Regions from separate parts of the Homo sapiens genome. Here region 2 is linked to region 1. Evidence: promoter capture Hi-C in 16 types of primary human blood cells and fetal thymus (Javierre and others, 2016). All regions are on one chromosome and are shown on one strand. Each heading gives the region's core, a stretch centred on a gene start or on the middle of the fragment in contact. The rest is flanking DNA. Distances are from core to core; before and after follow the strand shown.

What was found. Contacts are between HindIII fragments. The CHiCAGO score rates a contact against its expected background, and 5 or more counts as called.
Region 2: a fragment that was not itself captured here is called in contact with the fragment with the promoter of NCF4 in region 1 in 5 of 17 cell types (endothelial precursors, neutrophils, M0 macrophages and 2 more); the score reaches 9.2 in endothelial precursors.

Annotation. Positions count from the first base shown.
Region 1 is chr22:36,855,949-36,862,255 of GRCh38, forward strand. It overlaps NCF4 (neutrophil cytosolic factor 4), which reads left to right and starts at 5,058. Exons shown (of 10, transcript NM_000631.5): 1 at 5,058-5,255. The coding sequence starts at 5,224. All of the region lies in intron 1 of NCF4-AS1 (NCF4 antisense RNA 1), which reads right to left. The HindIII fragment of the contact is 9,996 bases long and covers 414-6,307 here.
Region 2 is chr22:36,988,428-36,994,734 of GRCh38, forward strand. It overlaps CIMIP4 (ciliary microtubule inner protein 4), which reads right to left. Exons shown (of 6, transcript NM_001163857.2): 5 at 3,054-3,164; 6 at 2,698-2,849. The coding sequence ends at 2,752. Among named protein-coding and RNA genes, the nearest start is that of CIMIP4, 16 kb to the right of the region's middle. The HindIII fragment of the contact is 2,430 bases long and covers 1,822-4,251 here.

The DNA of each region.
Region 1 (6,307 bases), core at 3,808-6,307:
TGGAGTGAATAAATGAATGAATGAGGGCCAGTACAGCAGTTATTAAGTGTGGGTCTTGAAGCCAGACTGATGTGAGGTCCAAATCTTACTCTGCCGGTCATTAAGCAAGCCGCTTTGGTTTATTTTCCTAATCCCGTAAAGCCTGGGTTTCCTTATCTCCCGGTGGGGATAAGAATACCACTATTTTATGGGGGTTGGTGTGAGGATTAGGTAACAACAATCAGAGCCAACATGGACCAAGCCAGGCTGTGGGCCAGGCACTGTACTAAGGGCTTTGCAAATGCTAGCTCTCGTGCTCCTCCTGGCAATTTCACGGTGTAGGGGTGGTTACACAGTCAACTCTCAGAGTGACTTGGCTGTTACCGTATTTATGATGGTGGAGAGGAGATTCAGGATTCTTAGCCCCTGGGGGAAGCTTCCCCTGAGTGCAGCTCAGATTCTGGCTGATAGGGCTGTCTGGAGAGGTTGTCTGAGCCAGCAGGCTGCGCGCTCTGCCTGGCCAGCTGCAACTTGACTCTCGACTTGGCCGGGTCCTTCTAGTGCGGCTTATAGCATTCAACCTCCTCTAGGTGGCGCTGCGGAGCGGGGACTCGGCTGCTGATCGCGGCGCCCCCTGGCGGTCTGTTCCCGTCAACATTTAGATTAAGCGCAGAGCCGGTTCCGCCAGGGAAGTGCGCGTCCCGGTGCCCCCGCGTGATGAGAGCGGATGACAGATTGCGGGAAAAAGTTAGAATGTAACGTTAGTTGTATGACAGAGAGGACCAAGCTGTGCAGCAGAGGGAGACAGAAAAGGGAGGGACCAAGCCACAGCAAGGAATGATCGTCAATAACATTAACGTCTAGAATTTATTGACCACCTGCTATGCGCGAGCCACTGTCCTAAACATCTGGTATTCATTCCCTTAGTTAACACACCTCTAGTAAGTGCGTGTCTCAAGAACAGTGTCTGTGTTTCATTTAGGGCCTAGCACACAGTGGGTGTCTGGCACATAGTAGGTTCTCAACACATTTGGAAATGAATAATACAATAATCCTGCAATTTTTCTCTCCAATTAATAATGTAGAGGCAAATATTATCTCCATTTAGAAAACTGAACAATGGTCGGAGAGTTTGCACAACTAATGCGTGACACAGCGAGGGCACACGAGGTTTAGACCCAGCTCAGCCGTGTGCCAGGGCTTCTCAGAGAAGAGAAGACCCTCTGCCTTCAGGGAGTTTGCTGTCTAATTGGCCACGTCTACACCCTCCCTGCCTGGGTGGCATGCCAGGGATGGCTATTTATGGCTCAGGGAGGAGGTCCAGTGAAGTTCCCCTCATAAATTATAAAGGGAGACACATGTGGGTCAAGATTGGGGAATTCAGTGTGTGAGGGATCCCCAGGAATCTTACACTGTCCAATCAGGGATTTTCCTTCTCTTACCCTGGAGAGTGGCTGATGTAGGCAGTGGGGATTTGCTGAGTACCTATAATGAGCTCTCAAGGGTATCTCCTGGTCCTGTAGAAGAGGCTCACCTCCTCCCTATCACAGAGTTCCAGTTCCTATGGCTGGAGCTCTCAGCCCCAGCCGCTGGCTGCTCAAAGGAGAGTTTCCTCATGTCCAAAATGGGGGCTATGGTTTATCTTGTATACCCCAGCACCTGCATGAGGAAGGACTGAAAAGTGCTGTGCACTTTTGTGATTCGCACATCCAGTCCCCATTCAGGCTCTGGGGATCCCCCAGGCATGGTCTTGGTGTATTAGACTTTTTCCTGGAGATGTGATTATGAATGGGCATTAGTAAGTGGTGTTATGCAGAGATGCCCTTCTCTGAATGGCCTCTGGTATTTGTTTTTTGAGTTCTTGAGAACATATATATTTTTTGGTATTCCATGGTCTTTATCATTGTCAGGCTGTCACTGAACTGTCGCTTGCATTTGGCTGCCCCTGGTAATTTTCTTCCTTCCCCTAACTCACTGCTTCAAGTTCTTGAGTTGGCAGGAAGAGAGGACCAGGCTCCTTTTATATTTCTTCTGTGAATAAAATATGCCAGTGTCAATGCATAGACTTTGAGCTATCAATTCTAACCATTCAATGGCTTTTCTCTTTTTTTGGTTTATTCACAGGCTGTGGGATGTGGAGGTTATCAAAAATCAGGTCTCCATAAGTGAGAGGTCACTTCAGGCATTTCTTTGCACTTATCCAAAAAAGATTCCATCCATACTTGTTTAATGGAACGTGTGAAGAGCTTGGCTCCTCTTCCAGGTCATCCCTCTGCCTCATTCTCCCCCTGCAGCAGGAGCAGCAAGAGCCCGGTTCTGGAGTGGGAGTAGAAGGTACAGGCATTGCTGCAGCGGCAGGACAGGAGCCCATTGCTGACAGAGTGCCTGGCCTCAAATTACACTGTATCAGAGCTCGGGCATAAAATTGGCAGCAGCGTTCTGTGTATGAGGAGACAGAGAAATACCTGTATTCAGCAGAACCACGGGCAGGGACAGAAGAAAAGGAGAGAAAGAGGGGAGGAGGGGAAGAGCTGGCCCGTCGCGGGCTCTTCCCTGGACATCTTTGTCCCCCAGGTGCAGAGGTGGCTTCCCAGTGGCTGAGTCAGGGCCACAGGAGGTTTCTTGGGGGGTTGGGGGGGCCGGGGTTTGGAGGGCAAGCCATGAAAATACCTGGGAAGGTAAACTTGAGGGCTTAACCCACCTGAAACACACACATACAGATATACACACTGAAAACGATTAAAAAAGGAATAAGAAATGTCCATGTGTCTAGGCACTTTTATACAGTTTTCTATTAATTCCTACTACAACTCCATTAGGCAAGACTGTTTCACAGATTGGTGAAGAAGAAAGGTTCAAAAAGGACATGTTATCTTGCCTGAGTTCACCTATTATAAATGTACTTGTGTTTATACTCATTTGTCACCGACTGCAACCTAAACATCTAAACACATTCTCTCACAGCCACAATGCCACCACTATACACATTATATGGTCTTTTATAGACACAACACAAATGCACTTACACTTGCCTATGCGAGCTGTATGTGTTTATACACAAATATGTGTTTCCAACTATAGGCATATACTACACACACAGTTTACACAATCACCTACAAATTCTGTATCATGCTTGCTTGCTAAAATTGTTTTGCCACTTCCTGTCCTTCCTGACCAACTGTAGGCCAATGTCCTCCTCTTCCCTCAGTTATGGCTGTGTGCTTGCACCTGTTGGTACTTACAGACACCTGCACTAATAACCCTGCTCTGTGTTTCATTTCATCCTCTAGCCTGGGAGCCCCGAGACACCAGCAACTCATCAGACTTATTGTTTGTATTATTTCTAGTTCTTTGGGTGTGAATTCTTCATGATGTGGAGGCTCTGAGCTGTCTTTCACAGCTCACGATTTGTAGTTTTGGTCTGTGAGTTGACAGAGTAGGCCCTGCAGAGTCACTGACTCCAAGCTGTTTTTATATAATGCCTCAGCTTAGGATTTCTGCACCACGTGGGTAGCTTATATCGGGGCCTTACACCAGTGCAGAGGGCAGGCTTGAGGCTGATCTGGTACACACGTCCCTTGTTCCACCCATGGACTGTGAGAGGACCTCAGCTCCTGCCGTGACTCTAGGCTGATGGCTGAGAAACTCTGTTCCCATAATCAGTTCTGACACCCACTTTACACTGAGAACTCAGATTTGACTTTCTGCTAACAGCAGGACCTGTGGCCTGTACCTAGTCCCAGATTTGGCATTAAAATCTCAGCCCAACAATGCATATCCAATCTTGGTTTTCCCATGGGCTGTTGGCCACGTTCCTCTCCCCCTGGTATAGATTCCTGACCCCTCTCTTTGATCCTACCTAAAAATTATGCTTTCTTGTTTTTTTTAGCTGGGACTTGTATGTTTAAAGTAGTTTAAAACAACTTTCTGCTCTGCATGTATGAATACGAGTGTGTGAGCGTGTGTAGCTGGCAGGGAGTTACTGGGTGTGGCTGTGCCAATGACTCCTGTGGACCTCTTCTCAGAGAAGTCCCTTCAGAATCAAATACCCATACCTGTTAGGAGCTGCAGTCACTGACTGGCAGCGTTTCATTCATTCACTGAATATTGGTTGAGCACTTGCAATGTGCCAGGCACGCTGCTAGCCAAGGAGGCAGTCATTAAACATACAGATAAACAAACAAATGTGAGATGACAATAGTTATGAGTGCTCTGCAGTAGACGTGCAGGGACCTGTGAGAGAATGTAGTAGGGAGGGCCTTAATTTAGGGTGTGTGGTCAGGGAAGGCCTCGCTAAAGATGTAGCTTCTAAGCTGAGATGCAAAGGAGGCAGTGAAGAGCTTTTTCCAGCAGAGGGAACACCATGAGCATAGGCCTTGGGGCGGACGTCTTAGAACATTCTAGAAACGGAAAGGAGGCCAGTGAGAAAAAGGGAGCTCAGGAGCAGAGGCTGGGGAAGGCTGCAGGGCCTCAGGGGCATTGGAGGCAGGCAGGGCAAGGACTCTGGACTTTATCCTGAGCACAGGGTGATGGGGCAGGAGAGTTTAAGCAGGGAGGGTGAAACTCACTCTGATTGGCAGCCCTGTGAAAGAGGATTGGCTGGGCATGGAGATCTAAGGATGAGGAAAGGATATCCCAGAGTGCCAGGGCGCGCAAACCAAACTTCACACTCTAGGAAGACAGAGGCCAGAGGAACCAGGAGGGCTTCCTGGAGGAGGTGGCATTTACTCTGGGCCTAAGAGATCACAGGAAAATGGAGGCCAGCATTCTAGGCCTGGGGAAGAGTTTGGGCAAAGGCTTGGCAGTAAGAGAATAAAGGTGGGGCTTGATGGGCCAGAGGATAAGTGACTCCTCAAGGTCACAAGACACCCTGATGGCTGGGACCCCATCTCTGATGGAGCAAGGCTTCTGATACCCAACTGAGGCTTGGCGCCAAGGACTGACATCAAGGAAGTGGATTCCTGCAAACCTGGCACCCGAGGGTCCACTTCCTCAATTTCTGTGCAGCTGGGAGGTGAGGTAAGAGGAAGTGTGGGCCACAGGCTAGGCCCAGAGAGCCTGGAGGAGGAGCCTCTGCCAGACTGGAGAGAAGCAGGCCTGAGCCTCCCCAAAGGCAGCTCCTGGGGACTCCCAGGACCACAGGCTGAGACGAGACGCAGGGTGGCTGGAGGAAGTGAGAGGTGAACTCAGCCTGGGACTGGCTGGGCGAGACTCTCCACCTGCTCCCTGGGACCATCGCCCACCATGGCTGTGGCCCAGCAGCTGCGGGCCGAGAGGTGAGTGCCGGGGTGTGGCCGCCCCCGGGCCTTCTCACTGCTCCTCATAGGCCTTAGGGACAAAGGCCAGTCCTTCTGCAGTCCCTGATCAACATGAGAGGCTGGGGTTGAGTCAGAACCCAAATACTCAGAAATGCAACCTCTCAGAACTGCTTTAACGAAACTTTGAGCTGTGGCTCACCACCCTCAGACACAAATGAGAACACTGAGGCTCCAAGAGTGGGAGTGACTTGCCCACGGTCACACAACGAGTGACCGGCAGTGTCTGGAGAGGAATGCAGGTGTCCTGGGTCCCAGGCTGGGGCCCTTTGCTTCACATGGTGATCAGCAATGACTTTCCATCTTCTGCGCAAACAGAATTCACAGAATCTGGCTTGTTCTTCCGCTAATCAGGGCTTGCCTCAAATGTCACCTCCTCCAAGAAGCCTTCCTGACAGCCCCTACCTCATTGCTGTCTGACCCTTTGCCCTATTTCCCTTTTCTGCCTGGTTCTTATATTACAGGAATAATATTATATGCTCATTTATTATTTTTTCTTGAACGTTGGCTCCCCCATGAGAAGCAAGCTCCACGAGGCTGTGTCCGTTTTGATCGCTGCTGTATCACTAGGAGGTAGCTCATCCCTATTGAGCACCAGGACCAAGGGCTCAATAAATGTTGCTGAATGAATGAATAAATGAATGAATGAATGGGTGGATCTTTGAGACGGAAAAGGTCTTAGATTCTTCTAGTCCAACCTTGCCATTGTACAGATTGGAAATCTGAGGCCCAGGGAGGATAAGAGACTTACTCAGGGTCACAGAGAGTGACTGGCAAGGTTGGGGCTTGGAGCACGGCCTCACCAGCATCTAGCCTCGTCGCTTGGGAAGCATTTTCAGAATTTTTCCTCAGTAGCCAGGTCTGAGCTCTAAGCTGCGGGGGCCCTGAGGACGCAAAGCCTGGCCCCTGCACCCCCTGGATTGGAACAGCAGGTGACCTCTGTTACCTACGTGGAGGCCACTCAGGGGGTCACCAGAGACAGGCCAGGCTGGTGTGTGCCTACGCGGGGAACA
Region 2 (6,307 bases), core at 1,787-4,286, 130 kb after region 1:
CTCTGAACTCTTTGAGGACAGGCGCCATGTCTTATTTATTTTTGCACGTCCAGCTCATTGGTCAGGGCTGGGCAGGGGCATATCATGGGTAGATAAGTCTCTAAGGCAGCTTCTTCCACATCAATCTCCTGCAGACTGCAAAGCTCTGAGGTCTGGACTGTATTGCATATTGCATATGCATATTGCATATTGTATTGCATTCATATTGCTGTTTTCACCGTGCCTAATAGGGCTGAGTGTTTGTGGTGCTCCGTCAACAGGCACCACAAACACTCAGCCCTGTTAGGCACTGCACTGTCATACTACGTACACTGCAGTACGATTGCCTGGTAGAGTAGAAGTGACTTTGGATAGAAATTCCTGGGTTTGCACCCCCAGCTTCCTATGCATATAATCTTGTACAATTTCCTTGGCCTCTCCAAGCCTCAGTTTCCTCATCTTCATAAAGGGAGTGATAACAGCTCTGAGGACTGGTGTAAGGATGAAATACAGTTCCGTATATAAACCATGTGGCACATAATCATTTGCCACGTTATCATTTCTATGTCAGAACAGCACAGAGTCTGCTTTAGCCACAAGACTTTGGGTGGCTCATTTTTTCAGGTGTCACATGTGATGGGCACATAGTAGTTGATGAAGACAAAGTCTAGTGTTTCCAGTGCCCAGAACAGTGTCTTGCAGAAACTAGGTACCCAGTAAAGAAGTTGAACTGAACTCTGCACTTTGCACATAATTAGATATTTGATGAATATTAAATCAAGTCAGATTCACTTCCCTGTATTGCATTCTGATCCAACCCTACCTTTAAGTCATTCCTGGACGGGCGTGGTGGCTCACGCCTATAATCCCAGCACTTTGGGAGGCTGAGGCGGGTGGATCACTTGAGCTCAGGAGTTCAAGACCAGCCTGGCCAACATGGTGAAACCTCATCTCTACTAAAAATACAAAAATTAGCTGGTCATGGTGGTGCACTCCTGTAATCCCAGCTACTCGGGAGGCTGAGGCAGGAGAATAGCTTGAACCCAGAAGGCGGAGGTTACAGTGAGCCAAGATCACACCACTGCACTCCAGCCTGGACAACAGAGCCAGATTCCATCTCAAAAAAAAAAAAAAAAGAAAAGACAAAGAAAAAAAAGTAAGTAAGTCATTCCCTTTTGTGGGAGGAGGGGCAGTTGAGGGAGAAGTAGGAACATGTCTCCTCTTCTCCCAGTAGTGATTTTGATTCTTCCTCTCGCTTTTGATCTTTCAAAAGCAAGATGACCACCAGGACAAACTATTATTTTGAGGTCGCCAATGAACCATTCCTGCATACAGTAATACTCTTATGTAGTCCCCTCTCACAAAGTCTGGGCTTGGCCATATGTCTCTTTGGCCACAGGGACATTGACAAGCCAGTGCAAGGCTTGATAAACCATTGCACATTGAATCTTGTCCCCTGAGACGGCTCCTTCTTGAAACCTAGTCCCCATTCCAAAAGAAGCTCAAGTGAGCCACGAAGAGAGGTCCCATGAGAGAGAGTGATGATCAGCCAGCCCCCCACTGTGGTTCTCATCCCAGCTGAGGCACTAGGCATGGGAGAGGAGCAGGCGTCTTCACAGCAGATGCTATACAGAACAGAAATGAGCCGTACCTCCTGAGCCCTGCCTAAATTGCTCAATCATGAGCAAATTAAGGATCATGTCATTTTAAGCCCACAAGTTTTGGTGGTGTTTTGGAACACAGCAAATAATAAATAACCCATGGGTAGAGCACGGTCTGAGGGTGCAAGTCAGTGATCTCGGGGTGGAGTGTGCTGCGGGCTTAGAGACTCATCAGGTGAAAAGCTTCAGGATCAACTGGAAAACAGAACCGTCTGACCTAGAACCCATTATCTGGGGACTCTTCCCTGGGGCTCCAAGCCCCTATGGTCTGAGGATGCTTTTGGCTCCTTAAACAATGAGGAGACCTCAGGCTCACATTACAGGAAGTCCAGAGGCCGGCAGCTTCTGGCCAAGTTGATGGAGCAGCTCTGCGAGGCCATGGAGGACCCAGAATGTGCTGCATGGTCTGCAATTCCTCTGGTCATAGGTGTCTGGCAGGAGTGGTCTGGGCTGCATGGTTCCTCATTCATTACATCAGGAAAGATGGATGCTCTCTCAGCATTCCCAGCTGAGAAAAGAATTTCCCAGAAGGCTGCACGCATCCACACGTTTCCTTGCATCTTATTGGCCCAAATTGAGTCATATGTGCATGACTGAACCAATCACGTGCAAGAGGTGGGGTTGGGGTAGGGGTAAAGAATCACCATGAGACCAATCAAACCCGCCACTAGATTGGAGGAAATGTGTGTGGCCAACTCCTCTGAAGTCCGTGTCTCGTGGGGGAGGAATGGATGTCTGGGAATAATTGGCATCTTCTAGGAAGAGCATGTAGGGTAAGATCCAGCAGTGTCCACTATAGGACCCCCTCACATAGGGCATGTGGGAGAAGCCAGGCACCCTGGGCTTGAGACAGAGTCATGCCCAGCTCTCATGTCCTTTCCTGGGATAATGGATGAAGGTACGTGTGTGTGCATGTGTGTGCAGGAGGGAGGACTAGGGAATAGTTTGGGACCCCAGGGCTTCTATCTTCCCCCAGTTGGTCTCTCCAACACCACATATCGGCCTCTACTCCAGTGTGAAGAAAGGCACCAAGCACAGGAGGACTCGGACCTGAGCCTTTCCTTATTGTTAGCACTTTATTTGAGTAGAAGACACCTCTACTGTGTCAAAACTAGTACTTGGAGCTCTTGGATTTGCTGTTTTCTCCATATTTCTCTTCCAGTGCTTTCTGCAAGTTCAGGTTCATAGCATTTTTCTGGTGCCACCGCCCTACAGCGAGCAGGAGAAGAGCCAGCACAGATTAGATCATCTGGCAGTCTCTGGAGTTGCCCAGACCCCAGGGATGACTCGTACCTCTTCCAAGTCCACCCCGGCTCTGTCTCCTGCTCTGGTTTCTCTCTGACCCTTAGAGCCAACACACCCTGCTGGTGGAGGACAGTCCCTGCCTCCCATCACCCGCAGCTCCTCACTTACCCAGATCATCCGTCTTCCTGCCATGCCAGTGTTCTAAGTCCCTCACTGATTTCTCAATGACCTCTGGTGTGTAAGAAGCCTTCATGAGGCTCTTTGTCTCCTCAGCAGCCCCTGTAGAATACCATGAAGAAACCCCAAGTGCCCAATTCAGTGGCAGTCGGGTACTCCATGGCTTATATTGGGTGTCAGTTTCCTCTACGGATGGTAAATTGTGGAACGGAAGGAGAGTGGGAAGGGTTTCAAAGTAAAGTCGTTTGGGTTCAAACCCAGACTCCATTATTTATGGGTAGTATAGCCTCAGAGAAATTTTTAACCTCTCTGAGCTTCAGTGTCTTCAACTATACCAAGAAATGAGATTTTTTTGCATGGTTGGAAAGACAAAATTATTGGACATTCATCAAGACATCTAGCAAGTGGCAACTAATACCTGTAACTTAGGAAAACTTATCTCTGTTTTCAAAATTCAAACATGCACAAGCAGATACGTTGCAATGATCAAGAGTCAGCAGAAACACCAAAGGACAAAATCTCCCAAATTAGCAAAGATTTGAATGATCAGATACAGAATACAAAATAAGTATATTTAGGCCGGGGGCAGTGGCTCACGCCTGTAATCCCAGCACTTTGGGAGGCCAAGGCGGGTGGATCACGAGGTCAGGGGTTCGAGACCAGCCTGACCAACATGGTGAAACCCCGTCTCTACTAAAAATACAAAAATTAGCTGGGCGTGGTGGCGGGCTCCTGTAATCCCAGCTACTCAGGAGGCTGAGGTAGGAGAATTGCTTGAACCCGGGAGGCGGAGGTTGCAGTGAGCCGAGATCGTGCCACTGCAGTCCAGCCTGGGCAACAGAGAGAGACTCTGTCTCAAACAAACAAACAAACAAACAAAAAACCTATATTTAATGATTGAAACCATAAGAGAGAATAAAAATATAAGCAAAGAGTAAGAAACCATCCAGAAAGAGCAGATAGATTAGTAAGAGAAGCAAACGGAATTTCAGAAATGAAACACATAATAATTGAAAAAAAATTAAACTCCATGGCAATAAGATGCCTGGGACTTGCTTTGAAATAATCTTGGGTGGGAGTGGATGGGTGGGAGAAAAGATGAGACAAGATCGGCTATGTATTAATCATTGTTGAGGCTGAGTGGTATATGCAACATCTATTTATAAACTAAGTTCTCTTCTTTTCCATAAGCTTGAAAATTGCCATCATAAAAGTTTAAAAAGAAATTCAATTAACAGATAAAATAGCAGATCAAATAAAGCTGAGAGAAAATGGTAAACTGGAAGATATACCTAAAGAAATTAATATTAGGATGCAATACAAAGAAATAAAAAGATGTGGGCTGGGCGCGGTGGCTCACGCCTGTAATCCCAGCACTTTGGGAGGCCGAGAATATATATATAAATTCTATATATACATATATCTAAATCCTATATATAATACATATATAAATTCTATAAAATAATAACATGTAAGCTGAGGTGGAGGTCGGGAGAGTAATTAAAGTTAATTAAAGTTTTTTTTTTCTTTTTTTTTTTTTTGAGACGGAGTCTCGCTCTGTCTCCAGGCTGGAGTGCTGTGGCTCAATCTTGGCTCACTGCAACCTCCATCTCCCAGGTTCAATCTACTCTCCTGCCTCAGCCTCCTGAGTAGCTGGGATTACAGGCATGCGCCACCACACCCAGCTAATTTTTGTATTTTTAGTAGAGACGGGGTTTCACCATGTTAGCCAGGATGGTCTGGATCTCTTGACCTTGTGATCCGCCCATCTCGGCCTCCCAAAGTGCTGGGGTTACAGGTGTGAGCCACGGCGCCCAGCCAAAGTTAAAGCCTTCTAAGGCCCTTAGTGTTCAGGAAAACACAAATGCCTAGATTAACTTTATAATTTGTTAATTACGCATATAAAAATGTCAAAGGTAACCACTCAAAGAATAAGAGGAGTAGAAAAGAACAAATATCAGATTGAGAAAAATAAGAAAGCTGATGTAAATCCAAAAAGAGAGAGAAAAAGAAGCCACAAAGAAAAAGCAGCACACCATCCTGGCTAACACGGTGAAACCCCGTCTCTACTAAAAATACAAAAAAAAAAATTAGCCGGGCGTTGTGGCAGGCGCCTGTAGTCTCAGCTACTTGGGAGGCTGAGGCAGGAGAATGGCGTGAACCCAGGAGGCGGAGCTTGCAGTGAGCTGAGAGCGCGCCACTGCACTCCAGCCTGGGCAACAGAGTGAGACTCCATCTCAAAAAAAAAGAAAAGAAAAGAAAAGAAAAAGCAGCACAAATAGAAAACGAAAAATAAGATCATGGAAATAAACCCAAATAGTCTATATCAGTAACGAGAATCAATATGAACGAATTAAACCCATTCGTTAAAAACCAGATGATGACACTACAGAAAATGTTTTCCAGGTATGTATCATTGAAGGCATATTTAAAAGGACACAAAGAGAGGATAAACATGGAAGAACAGAAAAAGATATACCCAGGCAAACACTAACCAAAAGCAGTCTGGTCTAACTATATCAGGTGAAATAGACTGTAGGGCAACGGCACGATGAAAAACAAAAACAATTGCAATTCATTAAGGTAATGTAATGATTCTGAACTTGCTACATTGAAATAATCTCAAAATAGATAAGGCAAAATTGACAGAACCACAGGACAAATGGACAAAGCTGCTATTATAGAGGGAGATTTAAAGACACATATTTTAGTAACTAATAGATCAAGCAAAGCATATTAATAAGGATTAGAAGATTTGTGCAGAAATTATTAACAAGCCTGTTCTATAGACAAATGCAGAATCCCTTACCCAAGAGATTGTTATTATTATTATTATTATCATTATTTTGAGAGGGAGTCTTGCTCTGTCACCAGGCTGGAGTGCAGTGGCGCGATCTCCGCTCACTATAACCTCCGCCTACCTCCGCCTCCCGGGTTCAAGCGATTCTTCTGCCTCAGCCTCCTGAGAAGCCATTACAGGCGTGCGCCATCACGCCTAGCTAATTTTTGTATTTTTAGTAGAGACATGCGCCATCATGCCAGCTAATTTTTGTATTTTTAGTAGATATAGGGTTTCACCATATTGGCCAGGATGATCTCGATCTCTTGACCTTGTGATCTGCCTGGCTCCGCCTCCTGAGATTTTTTTTTTTTTTTTTTTGAGATGGAGTCTTGCTCTGTCACCAGGCTGGTGTGCAGTGGCGCAATCTCGGCTCACTGCAAGCTCCGCTTCCCGGGTTCACGCC